7 separate regions of the Homo sapiens genome follow, and all the other regions are linked to region 6. The links are contacts of gene promoters, found by promoter capture Hi-C in blood cells and fetal thymus (Javierre and others, 2016). All regions are on one chromosome and are shown on one strand. Each heading gives the region's core, a stretch centred on a gene start or on the middle of the fragment in contact. The rest is flanking DNA. Distances are from core to core; before and after follow the strand shown.

The links. The method cuts DNA at HindIII sites, captures the fragments that hold promoters and counts their contacts. A CHiCAGO score of 5 or more calls a contact.
Region 1: a fragment that was not itself captured here is called in contact with the fragment with the promoter of UST-AS2 in region 6 in 5 of 17 cell types (total CD4 T cells, activated CD4 T cells, naive CD4 T cells and 2 more); the score reaches 8.2 in total CD4 T cells.
Region 2: a contact is called between a fragment that was not itself captured here and the fragment with the promoter of UST-AS2 in region 6, in 2 of 17 cell types (naive CD4 T cells and erythroblasts). The highest score is 6.0, in naive CD4 T cells.
Region 3: a contact is called between a fragment that was not itself captured here and the fragment with the promoter of UST-AS2 in region 6, in 2 of 17 cell types (naive CD4 T cells and naive CD8 T cells). The highest score is 5.1, in naive CD4 T cells.
Region 4: a fragment that was not itself captured here is called in contact with the fragment with the promoter of UST-AS2 in region 6 in 3 of 17 cell types (non-activated CD4 T cells, activated CD4 T cells and naive CD4 T cells); the score reaches 7.6 in non-activated CD4 T cells.
Region 5: the fragment with the promoter of LRP11 here is called in contact with the fragment with the promoter of UST-AS2 in region 6 in 3 of 17 cell types (naive CD4 T cells, naive CD8 T cells and total CD8 T cells); the score reaches 6.7 in naive CD4 T cells.
Region 7: a contact is called between a fragment that was not itself captured here and the fragment with the promoter of UST-AS2 in region 6, in 1 of 17 cell types (activated CD4 T cells). The highest score is 5.5, in activated CD4 T cells.

Annotation. Positions count from the first base shown.
Region 1 is chr6:149,686,795-149,689,494 of GRCh38, forward strand. The region is part of intron 3 of LATS1 (large tumor suppressor kinase 1); the gene reads right to left. Among named protein-coding and RNA genes, the nearest start is that of LATS1, 30 kb to the right of the region's middle. The HindIII fragment of the contact is 3,336 bases long and covers 1-2,700 here.
Region 2 is chr6:149,824,305-149,827,004 of GRCh38, forward strand. It overlaps LRP11 (LDL receptor related protein 11), which reads right to left. Exons shown (of 7, transcript NM_032832.6): 6 at 1,960-2,055. RAET1E-LRP11 (RAET1E-LRP11 readthrough) reads right to left here. Exons shown (of 15, transcript NR_182438.1): 14 at 1,960-2,055. Among named protein-coding and RNA genes, the nearest start is that of RAET1E-AS1, 38 kb to the right of the region's middle. The HindIII fragment of the contact is 786 bases long and covers 895-1,680 here.
Region 3 is chr6:149,611,424-149,614,123 of GRCh38, forward strand. The region is part of intron 4 of KATNA1 (katanin catalytic subunit A1); the gene reads right to left. Among named protein-coding and RNA genes, the nearest start is that of KATNA1, 36 kb to the right of the region's middle. The HindIII fragment of the contact is 3,516 bases long and covers 1-2,700 here.
Region 4 is chr6:149,714,407-149,717,142 of GRCh38, forward strand. The region is part of intron 1 of LATS1 (large tumor suppressor kinase 1); the gene reads right to left. Among named protein-coding and RNA genes, the nearest start is that of LATS1, 2.3 kb to the right of the region's middle. The HindIII fragment of the contact is 1,950 bases long and covers 488-2,437 here.
Region 5 is chr6:149,862,840-149,865,768 of GRCh38, forward strand. It overlaps LRP11 (LDL receptor related protein 11), which reads right to left and starts at 1,520. Exons shown (of 7, transcript NM_032832.6): 1 at 569-1,520. The coding sequence starts at 1,181. It overlaps RAET1E-LRP11 (RAET1E-LRP11 readthrough), which reads right to left. Exons shown (of 15, transcript NR_182438.1): 8 at 2,377-2,505; 9 at 2,046-2,158. RAET1E-AS1 (RAET1E antisense RNA 1) reads left to right here and starts at 659. Exons shown (of 2, transcript NR_045126.1): 1 at 659-1,543. RefSeq lists silencers at 525-674, 845-954, 1,095-1,154, 1,225-1,674 and an enhancer at 1,331-1,831. The HindIII fragment of the contact is 13,305 bases long and covers 1-2,929 here.
Region 6 is chr6:149,031,184-149,033,921 of GRCh38, forward strand. UST-AS2 (UST antisense RNA 2) reads right to left here and starts at 1,478. Exons shown (of 2, transcript NR_134599.1): 1 at 1,342-1,478. The region is part of intron 7 of UST (uronyl 2-sulfotransferase); the gene reads left to right. RefSeq lists an enhancer at 1,882-2,071. The HindIII fragment of the contact is 1,599 bases long and covers 273-1,871 here.
Region 7 is chr6:149,658,179-149,660,968 of GRCh38, forward strand. It overlaps LATS1 (large tumor suppressor kinase 1), which reads right to left. Exons shown (of 8, transcript NM_004690.4): 8 at 1-2,790. Among named protein-coding and RNA genes, the nearest start is that of KATNA1, 11 kb to the left of the region's middle. The HindIII fragment of the contact is 718 bases long and covers 966-1,683 here.

The DNA of each region.
Region 1 (2,700 bases), core at 164-2,663, 660 kb after region 6:
CATTCAGTCTACCCTAAGCCCTGCCTTCATCCTGTAACCTCAATAACCACGAGGATAAACCATCTATTGCCCTCATATCTCAGCTTCTTGACGTCCCCTCTTCCACTCCACATCAAGTATCATTCTCATGATTGTATTTCAAACTTTGGTATTACTCATATCTGCTCTTGTTTCAGAATAACTACTTTAAGGTTTATACGCTTATACTCCCAGACCACAACTACTTCTTCTGTTTACTCCTACTGCAAAAGTTTTTAAACTTTATTAAGTAGCAACCTCACCAAGATCTCCAAGATTTTTATTTTTTTTTTTTTGAGACAGAGACTTGCTCTGTCGCCCAGGCTGGAGCGCGGTGGCATGATCTCGGCTCAGCGAAACCTCTGCCTCCTGGGTTTAGGCGATTCTCCTGCCTCAGCCCCCTGTGTAGCTGGGATTACAGGCAGGTGCCACCACACCCAGCTAATTTTTGTATTTTCAGTAGAAATGGGGTTTCACCATGTTGGTCAGGCTGGTCTTGAACTCCTGACCTCAGGTGATCCGCCCACCTCAGCATCCCAAAGTGTTGGGATTACAGGCATGAGCTACCGCATCCAGCCAACATCTCCAAGGTTAATCCCCTACTTTATCAGTCCTCCTTTTTCTTATTTTTATTCTTTTGAGACAGTCTTGATGTCACCCAGGCTGGAGGGCAGTGGCATGATCATGAATCACTGCAGCCTTGAACCCCTGGGCTCAAGCAATCCTCCCACCTCAGCCTTCCAAGTAGTTGGGATTACAGGCATGCATCACCATGCCCAGCTAATTATTTTATTTATTTATTATTGTAGAGATGGTATCTAAGTTGTCCAGGCTGGTCTCAAACTCCTGGGCTCAAGTGATCCTCCTTCCTCAGCCTCCCAAAATGCTAGGATTATAGGCAGGAGACACTAAGCCTAGCCTATTTTTAAAACTTTTTGTAGAGACGGGGTCTCCCTAATATACCCAGGCTGGTCTCGAACTCCTGGCTTCAAGCAATCCTCCCACCTTGGCCTCCAAAGTGCTGGGATTACAGGCGTGAGCCACCGTACTTGACCCTCCTCTTTTTTTTTTTTTTTTTTGAGGCGGAGTCTCGCTCTGTCGCCCAGGCTGGGAGTGCAGTGGTGCGATCTCGGCTCACTGCAAGCTCCGCCTCCCGGGTTCACGCCATTCTCCTGCCTCAGCCTCCTGAGTAGCTAGGACTACAGGCGCCCACCACCACGCCCAGCTAAGGTTTTTGTATTTTTAGTAGAGACAGGGTTTCACCGTGTTAGCCAGGATGGTCTCGATCTCCTGACCTCATGATCTGCCCGTCTTGGCCTCCCAAAGTGCTGGGATTCCAGGCATGAGCCACCTTGCCTAGCCTGGCCTTCCTCTTTCTTTATGACACATTTTATCCAACTTAAATCCATGGTCTATCACTTTGTTCTTCCCTCTCTATTCTTTTTCTCTGAGATCACCTCCTTTTTATTCATTCATTAAATATTTGGGTTTTTTGTTTGTTTGTTTGTTTTTTGACATGGAGTCTTCGCTTTGTCACCTAGGCTGGAATGCAATGGCGCAATCTCAGCTCACCGCAACCTCTGCCTCCCGGGTTTAAATGATTCTCCTGCCTCAGCCTCCCAAGTAGCTGGGATTACAGGCGCCCACCACCACGCCTGGCTAATTTTTTGTATTTTTAGTAGAGATGGGGTTTCACTATGCTGGCCAGGCTGGTCTTGAATTCCTGACGTCGTGACCCGCCCACCTCGGCCTCCCAAAGTGCTGGGATTACAGGCGTGAGCCACTGCACCCGGGCCGTTCATTAAATATTTATTGTGCATCAACTATATGCCAGGCACTGCTCTAAGCAATCCAATGACATTGGTAAACAACAGAACATCCGTGGCCCATGAACCTACATTCTCGAAGGAGAAGCCAGACACAAAGCAGGTGAATAAATAAATGAGGTAACTTCAGGGTATGATAAATGCTCTGTGAATGAAACATAAATGGCATCAAATGATAGAGAGTAACAGGAGGCTAGAAAGGGATAAGGGCTCCTCTGAGGGATAATATATGAGTTCAGACAGCACAGGCCAGGCGCGGTGGCTCAAGCCTGTAATCCTAGCACTTTAGGAGGCCGAGGTGGGCGGATCACCTGAGGTCAGGAGTTCAAGACCAGCCTGGCCAACATGGTGAAACCCTGTCTCTACTAAAAATACAAAAATTAGCTGGGTATGGTGGCACATGCCTGTAATCCCAGCTACCTGGGAGGCTGAGGCAGAAGAATCACTGGAACTCAGGGGGCGGAGGTTGCAGTGAGCTGAGATAGCGCCACTGCACTCCAGTCTGGGCGACAGAGCAAAACTTTGTCTCAAAAAAAAAAAAGACTGCATAAAGGTCCTGAGGTGGGAGCTTGGTATTTTCCAAGAACAAAATAAACCCAGTACGGCTGTAGAACAGTAAATGAAGGGGGAAAGTGGTATTGGATGGGATCTAAGAGGTAGCCAGGCCATGGACAAGGAATTTGGAAGAATAAGAAGCCGATAAAGGTAGAGGAGGAGTACGCTCTGATTAAGGATTTAAATTATCCTTTCAGGCTGGGCACGGTGGCTCATGCCTGTCTCAAAAAAAAAAAAAAAATTACCCTTTTAGCAATATTATCGATCTTATTTTGTACTTGTTTAGTGAAACTCCAGTCAG
Region 2 (2,700 bases), core at 38-2,537, 790 kb after region 6:
TAAGTCAGATATGAGGCTGCTGAACTGTCTGATCTGATTCCTGTTTAATGCTTTTATGACAAGGAAAATGAAATCTCCCAAAAGTACTTGCCAGAATATTGAAAATTATTCTTGACTTTTAATATTTAGTTGGCTTAGTTTGGATAATTTGAGATTTACAACTTTCTAGCTCCTTCTAAAACACACCATGATGCTATTCTCAGTAACCAGCTAGGGTGATGAATTATGTATTCTGTTCATATGAATGGGGGTGACATTTAAAATATGTAACAGGCTGGGCACAGTGGTTCACACCTGTAATCCCAGCATGGTGGGAGGCTGAGGCAGGAGGATCACTTGAGGTCAGAAGTTTTGAGACCAGCCTGGCCAACATGGCAAAACCCCATCTCTGCTAAAAATACAAAAATTAGCCAGGTGTGGTGGCATGCACCTGTAATCCCAGCTACTAGGGAGGCTGAGGCAGGGGAATCGTTTGAACCCGGGAAGCAGAGGCTGCAGTGAGCTGAGATCGCGCCGCTGTACTCCAACCTGGACAACAGAGTGAGACTCGATGTCTCAAAAACAAAACAAAACAAAAATATGTAACAACCAGAATAGGCAACAGCCAACTAGAGCTGAGACTCTCTGGATACATATGTGTGGGGAGGCAAGAGGCAGGCTGGTTTCCCTCTTCCCTTGATAGGGGACAGGGCCCCTTTTATTCAAATATCTTGGGACAGGCTAAGTCCAGGAGGCCAGCAGACCAAGGGGGTCACCCAGGTACTTGACATCTGGAGTATTCTTAGCTATCTATTGTTTAAACATTATATTTTAATATTGTCCTGATATTATAAATAGGGTAAAAAGAAAGTTTTCTCAATGTTTATAACTTAAGCTTATATTTTGTTCTTCTAAAGCTTCTTTTACTAGTTTGTGGGATTTAAGACTAAAGCCTGCCTTTCTAAAGGATGGTTTCCAAAGTCTTTTCTTCCTAGTTAAAATCAACCAAAATTAAAGAAATTATTGTATTCTTCTTCCACTTAGTAAATATTCTACTTCCTACACCCTTCCCTCATTTCTGTTGTTTTCTGTCTTTGTCACTAGGGCACTTGGAAAGAGAACTAGGTATTCTAAGACCTTTACTCTTCTTTCATCGTAAATAACTGAGTAATAACTGCCATCGTTTCTATATTTGGCTCATCATATGAGCCACACAGTGCATTCAATGCTTGAGATTAATTATCCCATATATTCTTCTCAGCAACCCTATGAGGCAGGTATTGTTACTATCCTCATCTTACGAATGAGGAAACTGAGATCCAGAGAGATAAGATAGCCTGCTCAAGGTCATACAGTTTAGTGGGTAAGTGAGAATTTTTTTTTTTTTTTTTTGAGACGGTCTCACTCTGTCACCCAGGCTGGAGTGCAGTGGCACAATCTTATCTCACTGCAGCCTCGACCTCCCAGGCTCAAGTGATCCTCCCACCTCAGCCTCCCTGGGACTACAGGCGAATGTCACCACACTTGGCTAATTTTTGTATTTTTTGTAGAGACAGGATTTTGCCATATTGCCCAGGCCGGTCTTGAACTCCTGAGCTCAAGCGATCCTCCTGCCTTGGCCTCCCAAAGTGCTGGGATTACAGGCGTGAGCCACTGTGCCCAGCTTTGAGCAAGGATTTGAATTGTGGCATCTGACTCTAAAGCTTGTGTTCTCCCACCATGCCACAAGTATGACATTTTCCACAGGTGTCACACCTGGAAGGGTGTATAGAAAAGGCAGCTGAGGTCCAAAGATGGAAGGTTACTATCAGGAGCCCCAAGACGCAGTGCAATACAAGCAACGAGGAGACAGTTCTTTCGGTCCACTGACGGACTCCTCCTGTCCTGAGCTCTCATGGCCTCAGGGAATATCCTCAGCCAGAGGGCATGCAGTTCTGAGAAGACTACAGTCTGCAAAGGGTTTCCAAGGTGGACATTTACCTGTTTCTGGGGCTGGGTGTTCCCCTCCTCCTCCATCACCCTTTGACTCAAATATATAACTTTCCTCTTTTCTGTTCTTCCCTGAGGAACTACTATCTGCAGAAAAGAAAGAGAACATATATTGAAGGTGTATGCATCAGAAACTTCAGGAAACAAATGTGAAAATACAGCCTTATTTTTTTTTAAGATGGACTTAGAGAAGAACTGTTTATTTCTCTACTAAACAAAGGCCTATGTTTGATAGTTAAGCAGTAAATAACTAAGGTGACCCACTGAATAAAGCAAAGTACGCAGCTAATACGAAACCACCGACAGAGAGAGCGGAAGACACACCCTGCACCGAACTACCACCACGCCTCTTGGAGAAGGGAGATCTCAGGCTAGAAGAGTCACAGGGAGTCTCCGGATATCACGCCATGAAAAGCAGAAACCAGAAAGGTTTTTCTTTGAAGAATAAACAATGGGCATATATAAGGCATTTAGACATGCTCTTTCTCTTTCTCACAACTCTGGATGGCAGGTATAAATAGCTCAATTTTCTTTCTGGTTAGGCTCAGGGTCAGGTTCGTACCTAGGTTCACACAAGTAAGTGGGTCACAGGGCTGGGATGCAAACTGGTTTCTTGGTAGAGACCAGTACTTCTAATTTAATGATATATTACTTAACTATTAAGTTATAATACTGAGGGGGAAATTATTATTATTTATTTACTTTTTTTTTTTTTTGAGACAGAGTCTCTGT
Region 3 (2,700 bases), core at 201-2,700, 580 kb after region 6:
CGTACTCCAGCCTGGGCAACAAGAGCAAAACTCTGTCTCAAAAAAAAAAAAAAAAAGAAAAAAGAAAAAAGAAAAAAAAAGATATTGATAAGAGCAAAAAGCAATAAAGTTAAAAACAGAATAACTATAGAGAAAATTCAATGAAACAAAGGAGTCTTTTAAAAAGATTAAAAATTGACAAACCTCTAGCAATACTGACAATGCAAAAAGGACAGAGAACACGTATTACTGGTATAAGGAATGAAAAAGGAGCTATCATTATAGACCTGCAAGCACTTAAAGAATAAGGAATATGGCCAGGCATGGTGGCTTATGCCTGTAATCCCAGCACTTTGGGAGGTCAAGGTGGGTGGATCACGAGGTCAGGAGATCGAGACCATCCTGGCTAACATGGTGAAACCCCGTCACTGCTAAAAATACAAAAAATTAGCCGGGTGTGGTGGCGGGCGCCTGTAGTCCCAGCTACTCAGGGAGGCTGAGGCAGGAGAATGGTGTGAACCCAGGAGGCGGAGCTTGCAGTGAGCCAAGATCATGCCACTGCACTCCAGCCTGGGCGACAAAGCGAGACTCCATCTCAAAAAATAAAAAAAGCATAAGGAATCCTACAAAAATGCTACATACATAAATTTGACAACTTGGATTAAATGGACTAATTCTTTGAAAATCACAAACTACCACAACTCACCTAATAAAAGAAGATAATCTGAACAGTACCATAACTATTAATGAAGGTGATTCATAGTTTTAAAGAAATATTCAAGCCCAGGTAGTTTCATTGTAGAAACATTTAAAAAAGAATTAAGGCCCGGCGTGGTGGCTCACCCCTATAATCCCAGCACTTTGGGAGGCCGAGGCAGGTGGATCACCTGAGGTCAGGAGTTCAAGATCAGCCTGACCAACATGGTGAAACTCTGTCTCTACTAAAATACAAAAAAATTAGCCAGGCGTGGTGGCACGCATCTGTAACCCCAGCTACTCGTGAAGCTGAAGCACGAGAATCTATTGAACCCAGGAGGCGGAGGTTGCAGTGAGCCAAGATCGCGCCACTGCACTCCAGCCTGGGTGACAGAGTGAGACCCTGTCTCAAAAAAAATTTTTAAAAAAGAATTAAATCAATTCTACACAAACTCTTCCAGAGCACAGAAGGAAAATTTCTCAATTCATTTTATAAAAGGCTATATTACCCTGATACTGAAATCAGATGAAGACAGTTCCAAAAAACAAAACAAAGGAAAAACTATAGACCAGTATCATTCATGAATATACAGATGCAAAAATTGTTAACAAAATATTACCAAATAGAATTCAGCAAGATATAAAAAGAATTACATACCATGACCAAGTGAGAATTATTCCAGGGACATAAGACTAGTTCAATGTTCAAAAATTAATCAATATAATCCACTATATTAAGAGACTAAAGAAAAAGACCCATGTGATCATGCAACAAACGCAGAAAAGCATGTGCTAAAACTGAATACCTATCCAGGACAGAAGCTCTCAGAAAAATAGAATTTAAAGGGAATATCCTCAACCTGATAAAGAGTATCCACAAAACCATCCTGGCTAACACGGTGAAACCTCATCTCTACTAAAAATACAAAAAATTAGCTGGGTGTGGTGGCGGGCGCCTGTAGTCCCAGCTACTCGGGAGGCTGAGGCAGGAGAATGGCGTGAACCCGGGAGGCGGAGCTTGCAGTGAGTGGGGATCACGCCACTGCACTCCAGCCTGGGCAACAGAGCGAGACTCTGTCTCAAAAAAAAAAAAAAAAAAAAAAAAAAAAAAAAAAAAAAGAACATCTACAAAAACACCTCACCTACAGCTAACATTATACTCTCTGTGATGAAACATTGAATTCTTTCCTCCTAAAATCAGGAACAGGAACACAGCAAGGACATCTACTTTGTCACTCTTAAATATTTGACATAGTACTGGAAGTTCTAGCCAATGCAATAAGGTAAGAAGAGGAAATAAAAGGCATAGAAATCCAAAAATACAGAAATATTTGCAGATAACATAATTGTCCACACAGAAAATACTAAGGAATCTACAAAAATTCTCCTAGAATGAACAATTCTAGCATAGTATTAAGCTGACAAGATAGAAGATAAACATATAAAAATCAATTATTGGGACAGGATCGTGGAAGACTGACAGAGTAGGAAGCATCAAGAATCTGTATTTCCACCTAAACAAAAACTGCACCTGCAGAATCTGTTTGATGCAACTATTTAGGAACTCTGGAGTCTATTGGGAGGACTGCAACTTCCAGGGGGAAACCTGGATAGTAAATGACAAATTATGGTTAATTCTGGTTAATTTCAGCCCAGCTACTGCTATGGTTTTAATGTGTCCCTCCAAAAGCAAGGTGTTGAAACTCAGTAGCTAATGTGCTAGTATTAAAAGTTGGGCCTTTGAGAGGGGATTATGCCACAAGGGTTCCTTCCTCATGAATGGGATTAAGGCCCTTACAAAGAGGTATCACACAGCATTTGGATTTCCTGCTCTTATTCCTTCAGCCATGTGAGAACAAAGTGTTCCTCTACTCCAGAGGATGCAGCCCTCACCAAACAACTGAACATGCCAGCACCCTGATCTTGGACTTCCTAACCTCCAGAACTGTGAGGGAAAAAAATCCTGTTCTTTATAGATTACCCAGTCTGTGGTATTCTGTGATAGCAGCACAAAATGGAATAAAC
Region 4 (2,736 bases), core at 213-2,712, 680 kb after region 6:
TCTGAAAGATTCCATTGTGACATAGTATTGTGCACTCAAACTGTCATTCAATAGACAATGCAATTAAAGGCATAAGTAATTATTAAATTCAAGCAAGATCACAGAATTTTCAAAGGTAAGACAGACTCAAAAGTCTGCCAAAACTTTTGGAGTTATCTTCAGAAGAAGCTGTTTAATTTCCAGCAATAGGTAATTCAATTAAGAAGAAGAAAAAAAAACTAAGTAAGCAAAAATGAAAGGCAAGCAAAACCCCAGTATTCTTCAATATACCTTAAAATTATACACACAATCATAAAGACAATATAGGTTAAGATAATTAACTAGCATTATGAAAAGCAGCCTGTTATCATGATGTTGCATTAACTAACCGAAGTAATTCAGAAGGATCCTAGATTCTGAATGTGAATAAGGCTGAGACTCAAACTTTATTGTGACAGACGAAAATGGTATACAATTGAATGAATAAATGTATGCTATTATTAATAAAAGCTTTATGTTTACTTTCTTCCTGCTAAAAAATTGCTACTAAATAGATGGCTTATCTTAGATTTAGTGGTATTTCAGAATTGATAAAGTATGATAGTTCAACCTTATTCCTTTAAATACCGATATTGAATTTCATCATGTAGATGTACTATTTTTTATTTATTTATTTATTATTTCTTTATTTCTTTATTTATTTTTGAGACAGAGTCTCACTGTCGCAGGCTGGAGTGCCGTGGTGCCATCTCAGCTCACTGCAACCTCCGTCTCTCGGGTTCAAGTGATTCTCCTGCCTCAGCCTTACAAGTAGCTGGGACTACAGACCCGCGCTACCACACCGAGCTAATTTTTGTATTTTTAGTAGAGATGGGGTTTCACCATGTTGGCCAGGCTGGTCTCGAACTCCAGACCTCAGGTAATCCGCCCTCCTTGGCCTCCCAAAGTGCTGGTTACAGGCGTGAGCCACTGCGCCCGGCTAGATGTACTATTACTTATAAATCCCTGACTGATGGACATTTAGGTTGTTCCTCATTTTTTTGCTAATGTAAAATAATACTGCAAACTGGTAACTTCAATTATACTGGTAATATTCTTGTTCTGAGTTCAGGTGGTAAGTTCATGGATGTTCATTTTATTATGCCTCATAGTTTAATAAAATGAACATATGTATAATATACATATAGCATATTCCTTGCACATAACGAAATTAGTTAATAAAAAAATTGCTGCAATAAAAATTCTTGTGCACACATTGCTGAGCATTTTTCTTAAAATAAATTCCCAGAAGTGGAATTGCTGGATCAAAGAGAATACATATTTAAAATTCTGATACTTATTGTCAGAATGCCTTCTAGAAAGTTATACTAATTTTATAATCCCCACAACAAGGTATGGTTAATACTGGCATTACTAAATCTCAACAATCTTTGCTGCTATGACATGTGAAAATTCAAATTATTACTAGGCAAAAAGAATTTTTAAAATAATTCTTCAAAGCAAAACTGCTTACCTTTTTAACCCACACTACGATGGGGCCAGATTCGTCTTAATAAACAATTCTGATCATGTCACCTACCTACCCCATAACTTTCAATGACTTTAATCTCATGGTTAAAGTAAGAGCTCTGGAATCAAACTGCCTGGGTATGACAGATCGCCATTTTTTTTTTTTTAAAGTTCAGACCCTCATCAAAAATACAAACATCAACAAACAAGTATCATTGATTAGTTTGTCCAACTTAGGAAAAAAAAAATGATACCATTACATAAGATTTCAAAGTGTTAATTTGGGTTGAATTAAGTTTATCAGAAAGGTACCCTGGCTGGGTGCAGTAGTGCACCTGTAGTCCCAGCTACTTGAGAGGCTGTGGTGGGAGGATTGCTCGAGTCCAGGAGTTGGAATCCAGCGCAGGCAACATAGCGAGTTCCCATCTTTAAAGGAAACTGCATACTGACATTTTCTTCAGTTCACTTTCTAATAATTGTCAGATCAAAAGTGAAAGCAACGCTGTATCTTCATGCTGAAAAATGATTGCTGTTCCTACTTAGCGAAAATGTTATTCAATGACTAAATAACTTTTGTGATGTATAACAATCTCCCATTGATGTAAATAAAACATCTAAAATAACCAAATAACCAGGGTTAGAACAGTTCCAACACTATTTATATAGAACAAGGACTTGCAATAAAAACAAAACAAAAATAAAAACGACCTACACAATGAAAGCCAGATATTATACATTAAAAATGTAGTAGAAGTATTTTTTGGTGAGCAGCAAGGCATATTCCATCAATATTTAGGCATAGAATGTGCCATTCCAAGCATGGACCATGATCTAGTTTCTTGCAGTAGCAGCCAATTGGACTAACACAATGCTACTTCTTTTACTGTTCAATCAAATTCCTCCACTGCCTTAAGGAATCAACTACCCCATTTTACCGTCAGAGATAATAAGCTTTGTTTTCGTAGCACAGAACATTCACTCCAATTATAATGTCCTACCTTTTCTTCCTCATGGAGGAAATTTGATAAAAAATTAAGTTTATCAGAAACTTCTGATAAACTGATAAACTGATAAATTTATTAACCTTCAATAAATAATTCATAAAGTTCAAACAAGTTTCATGATCGCTAACATTCAAATCCATTTCCAAAACTGGAGTTATACAATATTACTTCTGTGCATGAGATTATACTTATTGTTCACTAGATTTATGAATAACTTCTGGAGGATGATACATGTTTTAAAAGC
Region 5 (2,929 bases), core at 270-2,769, 830 kb after region 6:
AAAGTGCTGGGATTACAGGCATAAGCCACCACGCCCGGCCTTAAAGTTTCTTATTTTCAACGAAAATCAAGTCCCCTCTTTTCACTTTTTATAAAAGGGACCAGAAGTTTTCCTCCCATTTTTGTATGATGAAAGCCACCGCAGGCAAAGTCAGGAGAGCCACGTCAAGAAAAAGGAGTGGGTGTTACGAGAAGCCCGGCATCTAATTAGATTTTGCTCTTGCAATTACTTAACACAAACCATGCCTTATACAACCCATGAGACTAAAACAAACTTTTTTCTCTCAGCATTTCTCCCCTTTTAAGTCATATTTCCACGAATCCTCTCAGATCAGCCTTTCTCTTCAAGCCTAGAAAAATTCCAGTAGCACGTCACCGCGCCCGCCCGCCCGCTTCTGCCAAACTACTGGGCTTCCTCTTCCCTAAGACAGAGAAACCCATGCCAGAAACTCTTCTGGGTGCCCGCGGCTAAAATAACTTGGCACGAGTGTGTTTCGCTTCCAACTTGGCGAGGGCGCTGCGGGTCTCGAGCGCTCTGGCCAAGGCCGGCCCCTCAGTCGCGCGCTTACCCTGCCGGGGCGAGGCGCGCGCGGTGGCCAGGGCGGCGCCGTCCGGCGCGCGGCTGAGGCTGTAGCTGCTGTAGCCGCTGTGCAGCGCGAACTTGCAGACGTTGCGGCCGCGCGCCGTGCAGTTGAAGAGGTAGCAGCCGAGCACGGCTGCCGGGGGCGCGGGGCGCCGGGGCAGCTCCACCACGGCCACGGAGCAGCGCGGCTCGGAGCAGCAGGCCGCCACGCATTGCCGCCAGCCCCGCACGGCCGCCGGCGCCCGCAGGAAGCTGGCACCCGCCGCCAGGGAGTCCTTGGTGCGGATGATGGCGTCAGGCATTGCGCTGTAGCCGCCGCTGCCCGGGCCCGGGCAGTCCTCCTGGGGGCCGCCGCCCGCGCGCAGCTCCAGCTCCAGCTCCTCCTGAGGCCGCTCCTGCTGCAGTTGCCGGCGGAACTCCTCCAGCAGCTGCTCCACGCCCGACAGCTGCGCGTGCAGTTCGGACAGCGGCGCCGCGGGCGGCAAGGCCGCACGGCCGCTTGGCAGCCACAGGCAGAGCAGTAGCAGCCCGCGCAGCGCCCCGTGACGCGGCGGTAGCCGGCGCTGCGAGCCCGCGCTCTCCTGGGCGACGGAGGCCATGGCGACGAGAGCCAAGGGCAGCGAGCCGAGGCGGGGCTGAGCGCGGGAGGAAGGCGGGGACGCGGGCGAGCGCGGGCCCTGGGCCCCTCCTGCGCGGCCGCGGCTGGCTCTAGGCCCCGGCCTCACAGCGCGGCGCCCCCGAACCCGGCTGCTCCCCCGAGGTCGCGGGCGCCGGCGGGAACCGCAGTAGCGGGAGACATAGCCGGCCCAGCCGGGCACCGCTCCTTGCCCTCGCCGGAGACTGCCCAGCGCCCTGCGCCTCTCCGCCCCGGCCTGCGGCGCGCTGGGTGGCGACGAGTCGGCCTCGGCGTTGATCAGCACCAGGTGTGTGCGAACAGTGGCCGCGGCGGGGTGGAGCCTTGGTGAGCCCCGCCCCCCCGCGCGGCCCCGCCCCCGCGCGTCTCGCGCCGGCTCCTCCAGGGCTGGGAGAGCAGGCCCCGGGGAGGGCAGCCTCAGAACAACTTTGCTCCCGCGCCGCTGCCCAGCTAGGGCAGGGTTCATGTCTGGGCCCAGCAGGCTTTAGCAACCAACCACACCTGCCCAGGGCGCCTGCCCACAGGGGCTTGGCATTCGGGGGAATGGGGGCAGTGGGAAGGGAGGGCCTGTCTTCAAATCCTCGTGACCCCCGGGACTACTCCAGAGAGGGGGCACGCGCACCTAGGACCACCGTAGCGCGTCATCAGTCCTTCACCTCCAGCGTCCCTGACTTTCCGCATCATGTTCCCAAGATGTGCTTGGGTAGTACAAAGTGGGGCGGGGTTGGGGTGGCGGAGTCAGGGCCGGGAGGGGTGGGGATGGGAAGTACTGAAAGATGTTCAGTCTGTTTAAAAACACAAAAATCAAGCCTGGTGAGGTGGTACTCGCCTGTAAGTCCTGAGGCTGAGTTGGGAGGATGGCTTGGACCCAGGAGTTCGAGACTGCAATGAGCTGTGATCACACCACTGTACTCCAGCCTGGGGGACAGAACAAGACCCTGTCTTTAAAAATAAAAACAAAACCCATAAATAGCAGTCGTCACATGCACTCAGATTTCCACAAATATAACAAAAAATCTGAACACAGCCAACATGGGGACCTGGGAGTAATACAGCCTGTGACAGAGAGGCCTCTAGCGGTTATATCACGTAAAATCTCGGGAGTTGTGCTTTAAATGACATAAGGAATAAGAAAATGTCCAACCCAGTGGGGGCTTCACCTTGGCGTTCTAGACTTCTGTGAGCAGCATCTGCATCTTGTTTGTTTCTGAATCAGTTTCTGTTGATTCATTTTTCTCCTGATTGTGGATCGCATTTTCTTGCTTTTTAGCCTGTCCGGAAATTTTTGCCTGGATGCGCACATTGTAAATAGAACACTGTTAAGTGTCTGTATTTTTTAGGATTGAAAGAATAAATAATTGGTGGGAAAATATCAGTCTCTGCTATGTGTTTATTATCTCCAGAGTTGACATTTAGGAACCCATTGCTTGCAGATCCAGATCAGAGTAGGAGGTAAAATTAAAAGGTAGCAATAGAAAAGAAAGAAAAAAGCTCAATGTTACTTGCCATTCCATCAAAGGGAGAAATTATAAAGTTTTTGCAGGGGTATATTTGAGTGATTTTTGAGGCTAAAAGAAATGGCCTCTTAGCTCTAAAGGCTGTGTCTGGACTGTACCACTTCGGCCTGGAGATTCTTCCTCATATGGCATACTCATCCCACACAACTGCAGTCATTGTAAGATGACCTTGAAGCAACATAATGCTTTTTATTTT
Region 6 (2,738 bases), core at 228-2,727:
GCCACAGAGCAAGACTCATCTCAAAAAAAAAAAAAAAAAAGTCTAAGCTGAAGGCATATAACTGGTTCAGCTGTAGCTACTGGGCAAATAGTTCATTAAAAATGAACACATAATGTAAACCCCTTTAACTTCTAAACACTTGTGATTTTTTTTAGTGAACATTTTTCTGAGGGGAACTGTATAACCACAGGCTGATAACATCATTCAGTTTACAGAAACATCACCAATTCACAAGAATTCAGCCTCTAGGCTTGTTTAATTTACTTTATGAAAGCTTAAATTGCAGCATAATATATGTGCGTTTGGCCTATTTCAACTATTACTCTTTGTTTTATTGGAAAACATGTTTTACTCTTGCTTACTGATTTGTTCTTGCGTTGGGATCATCTCTCCTCCAGGAGAAAGCATTTCCAATTTTATTATGAAAGATTAACAGGAAAATAGAACTTCCTTCACAGACATTGATGTTCTAGGAATAACTTTACAAAAATATTTCTCTTCTCTGAAAACTAATATTTAAATAGGTGTAATCTGAAACTACCAGAAAAATTCAACAAACACCTCCAGCAAATAAATAGCTGAGTGTCTGTGATGTCCCTTTCCTGGGGAAGGGCAGTATAAAGATGAAAATCTTGTCTAGCTGGAAGGCCGTCACTAACAGGGCTGGGGCGCATAACCCTGTGGAGACATTTGTGCCCGGCCTTAAAGGGTGCGTAGGAGTTTGCCAAGTGGACGTGGAAGGAGGCATTTTAATAAGAGGAAAATAACATGATTGGAAGCGTGGAGGTGAGAAAGCATAGAAGCACTCAGAGTGAGGAGAGCTGGGGCTTGGGCCAGCCCACGTCAGCCCCTGCCTGCGGACCCAGCCTCTTGGAGCCAGGCTCACTCACCCTGCCTTTAAGACGGCCCTACCAGAGGCAGGAGAAGGATCCGCAGCCTCAGCTTTCTGTGGCGCAACCTGGCACTGAGTCACTCATACCAATCTCAGCGCCAGTGGCCAAGCCGCTGCTGCCGGAGGGCCTGTGTCACCCTCCCCCCGTTTCCCTGCCCTCTTCCCATCCTACCACCACCCAAGCTCCCTGGCTTCCTAACAGTGTGGCAGGGATCCTCCCAGGCCCCCATCCTCCTCCAGCCTGAGTTCTTCCTCCCTGCTGTCTTCCCAGTCTTCCCCACTAAGATCCCACCACCCTTCAGACCCGGGCTCACACCAGCTCCTGCTGGCCCCATGTGCCTCGCACCGAATACAGGAGGTCGCACACTGCATCCCCAGACACCAAGTACTGCCCTGCTTGACCACCTATGTTCCCCTGGGCCCACCAGCATGGACTCTCCTTCTGTTACCAGTCACTGCCTGATCCAGGCATGAGCTGCCTGTGTCCCCCGACATCATCCTCCTGGCACCATCCTCTGCTCTTCCTGGCCTTCTTCACTGGGAGCCTTCGGGATCATCCCTCCAGATCAAGTTCTTCCAGCCCCACCTCCCTCCCACCCTGTGCACCCAGGGAAATTCATCTCTTCTGGGTCCCAACCTTGGCCTCGGGAGAGCCCCAGATGCCCCCCTCTGTGTCTACCCCAGTTACTCAGTGTGGTCAGACTTGGGGGTTGTACAGTTTTCTGTCTCATGATTCATTTCCCCAGGCAAAAAGCTGGCTAATAATATCTGGGTGTGCGGGGGAGGTACCAGTGTGTTTCTGTGTTTGGAGGTGAATTTTTTTCTACTTTAGAATTTAATCACTTCTACTTTGAGCAGTTTTTAGCTGAGCTGACAGTAATATGCTCTGCATTGAGTATTTGTAGGGGGTGGAATTAGTCACCACAAATTTCAATTTTTGGACTTTCCTGATAACGCCACAAAGCTGAAAGGCTTCTAAAGCTTGAGCAAAGATTGGAAACTTGACCCCAGGGGTTGATGGTTGATCTTTATAAAAACGACCTTGTGGTCAGTTTGTTCTTTTATGCTTAAATTGTCAAGGTCCCTGTCCACCCCAGGAATTAATGTGGTGATGTGGAAAGAGCACTAGACAAAGGATTTCAAAACTGTCTTTGGGCCCTTGGCTCGTGGCCTTAGCTCTCTGACATTCTTTGCTTATAAAATGTACCCCCTGCCGGGGCGAAGTACAATCCTTACCCATTTTGCATGACTCAACATTTTATAATGGAAGCTTCTATTTTTGTCTGGCTAAATCTTTTTCAAATAAAAATATTTCTTGGTCTGTATATTTTTCATGTCTCAGACATTTTTATCAATACATAATGTCCTAGCTTTTCACATCTTGCAAATGGCACAGAATTGTGAAAGAATACAGCAAAAAGCTAGAAATATACCTGTGTATATAACATTGCTGGGGATTTTTATGTGTGGTTTCTTGTGGGTTCTAGTAAGCACGTTCATTTCATTACCTACAAACGCATAGAAAAATCCAACATAATCCCACACTGATGAGAAGAAGAGAGGGTTGTTTGTCAGGTGGGGTAGTTTCACTTGACTTGAAGGTCTCACCCCGCCCCTCGTCTTTACCATAGCATACGCTTCTAGATGCTTCTGCTGCATTGTCAACCAGACTCTACCAGAACTGTTTTTCAAAACATGTGTTCCTAGGATTTTACCTCCCTGCATTTTTTGCTATATCTATTAAGTAATGCATGTATATAATTAAAAATCAAATAGTCCTATAAGATGTATAATGAAAACCAGCAGTTTCCTATTCCAACCCTCCCAAAGATGAAGTCTGATGTTG
Region 7 (2,790 bases), core at 75-2,574, 630 kb after region 6:
TCCCAGCAAACATTACACTAGAGAAAATGATTGGGAAAATACAAATAAGTTCATTAAAAACACAGGCTGATTATTCATATCTATTACATTCAGAATTATGCGAAACAATTAGTTATATTGCAAAGCTGTAATTCTTTTTCTAACAAAGCATGATTTTATAAAACTTTAATGTTGCCACTGATTCAATTTTAATACAAAATACTTATATACACAATACAATATAAAAGTAAACTGTGTAGTGCCTTCCACAAAGGGATATATTAAGGCGCTTTACAAATATACCAATATTTTGACCCAAATTACTTTTTGCTTTAGATTAAAATGAACAGGCTAAATGTTCCACTTTAAATACCAAAGGGATGTTTATTAAAAATTTTTTATCTAAAATACCTTGGGTAACAGCAGCAGCAATGTCTAAAAATCCTCCCACTGTATTCTCTAATTTCTAACACATTAAGTCAGAATAAAACAATTCCACTCACAGTTTTGCACTTTGCAACAGCAGAAGGTAATAACTTTTTAAAAAAGTCAATCTCAAAGTGACTTTTTAGTCATACATTCTATAGTTTCTATTACAAATAAGAAGGTAGAAAAGATACAGCAGTAGGGCCTGCCTTATGATGTCACTGGACAATGCATAACAGTATCTACAATTACATAATTATAGAACACATCTTATAAATACTATTGATATGCATAAAAAGGGTAAGTATAATAAAGACAGCAAGTTTTTAATAAGAAAATTATTTTAAAAGAAAACATATAGAACCAATGTTTTCACTCCATTTCAATGGAAAGCATCTATATTTTTAACATTGTTTTTCTCATCTTTTTGGTCAGGAAGCACCAGATTCTATACTGGAAGAAGTAGATGTAGTTTTGGAATAAGATAGCTGATAAGTATATCCAAACTGTTAAAATTGCTGATACCAAAGGCATGTATACTGCTTCAGATAAATGCAAAAAGCTTATAGTATCAGAGGAAATTTTAAAAGAATACATATTTGCGCCAGGCGCGGTGGGTCACGTCTGTAATCCCAGCACTTTGGGAGGCTGAGGTGGGCATATAACTGGAGCCCAGGAATTCCACACCAACCTGGGCAACATGGCGAAACCCCATCTCTACTAAAGATACAAAAATTAGCTGGGCTTGGTGGCGCATGCCCAGCTACTTGGGAGGCTGAGGCGGGAGGACTGCGTGAGCCCCCAAGGTTGAGGATGCAGTGAGCTGTGAAGCGCCACTGCCCTCCAGCCTGGGTGACAGAGTGAGACCCTGTCTCAAAACAAAAAACAAAAAAAGAATACAAAATTTGTAGTGTCTGTTACATTTCAGCAATAGGGGGAATACAGATTTTGTGGGAAGGGAAGGGGGAGGAGACAGCACCTTAGTTTTCCTACAACATAAATGTAACAAAGTTATCTTCTACTGTATTGCACCTTAGTCCAAAAGTAAAACAACTAAATGAAAATTTAAATAAATCAGACTGAAAAAGCCCAAAGAGTAAGAGGAATACCTTATAAATGTGACTACCCACCTAAAAATTCTTGAACTACTTTGTTTTGCATAGGATTTTATGGGACTAACCAAATGTTCCATGAACCATGAGGTGAAGACTGCGATTTCATGATAGCACATTGTTTTACAATTCTGATTAGAAATCCTTCAGAAATATTTCTGTATCAAGCTTGTAATGAGCCTAACATTTCAGTCCCCTCCAAATGATATATTAAAACAACTTAATGTACCAGCAAGAGAGGCATTCATAAGGTCACCTTATATCACATGCTACAGACCTTTTCCATCACAAATTATCAGCTTATATAAGATGTGCTGAGTAGTGATTGGTAAGTTAAAAACAAAGTTCTTAGTTTAATGTATCAATTTTCTCATGGCACAGAGGTCCATAACCTACAGCCTGTGATAGGTTTCAATATGTCCAAAATCCCTTGAAACTGCATGCAACATTGTATGTGTATGTGTGGTTTTTTTTTCTAGGAAGAGTCCACAGCTTCCTTCAGATTCTCAAAAGAACCACTAACCCCAAAAGACGCACGATAACACAGTAGTGGGTTTTCAGGCTGAGCTCTGAAAGGACCACCTGTAGAAAGGTGGGAAGTGTGGGCTAATAAGTGTTCTTTGCCCTAACTCTCCAATTCAACTGCAACAGCTCTGCCTTTAATTTTACTACATATACGGTTTCAATTAGCTTTTATGCGAAGAAAGCTAAAAGTATGAAAATCACTAAAATTATGCCTCCAATCTACAAATAGTAACTTTTGATAAAAACAATCCCTTATCAGTGGAGCTTAAGAAAAGGAAATAAAACACAACACAAATTTTACTATGGTCAAAATGGAGCCTTTTTCCCCTTCCTAAAAGATAAGCTACATGTATTTTGGTATGAAACCTTAATCTTCCTTAGAACCTAAGCGTTATACATAACAGGCATGTTGAACGCATTATTGAACCTTAAATAAATTAGGAGGACTTGAATTTTCTACTAAGACCACTCTGTAAACTTTCCTAATTATTAATGGCCATCTTAAGAGTTAATTTTTTCACCAATTAATCTGCGCTTAGGTAAAATATTGCCAGATAGCCAGATTTTCCTTTGCCAATAACAATCTGTATATGCAGCACTGTTCTGAAAGAGGAAACAGGTAACATTGATGATATAATCAAAATAGTTACTATACAGGAAAAGTATATGAAAATTAAAATAATTATCTGCTTAGGATGGTGAGAAATATTTTAGCTTTTAGTATTGAACATTTCGATTTATGGCAGCT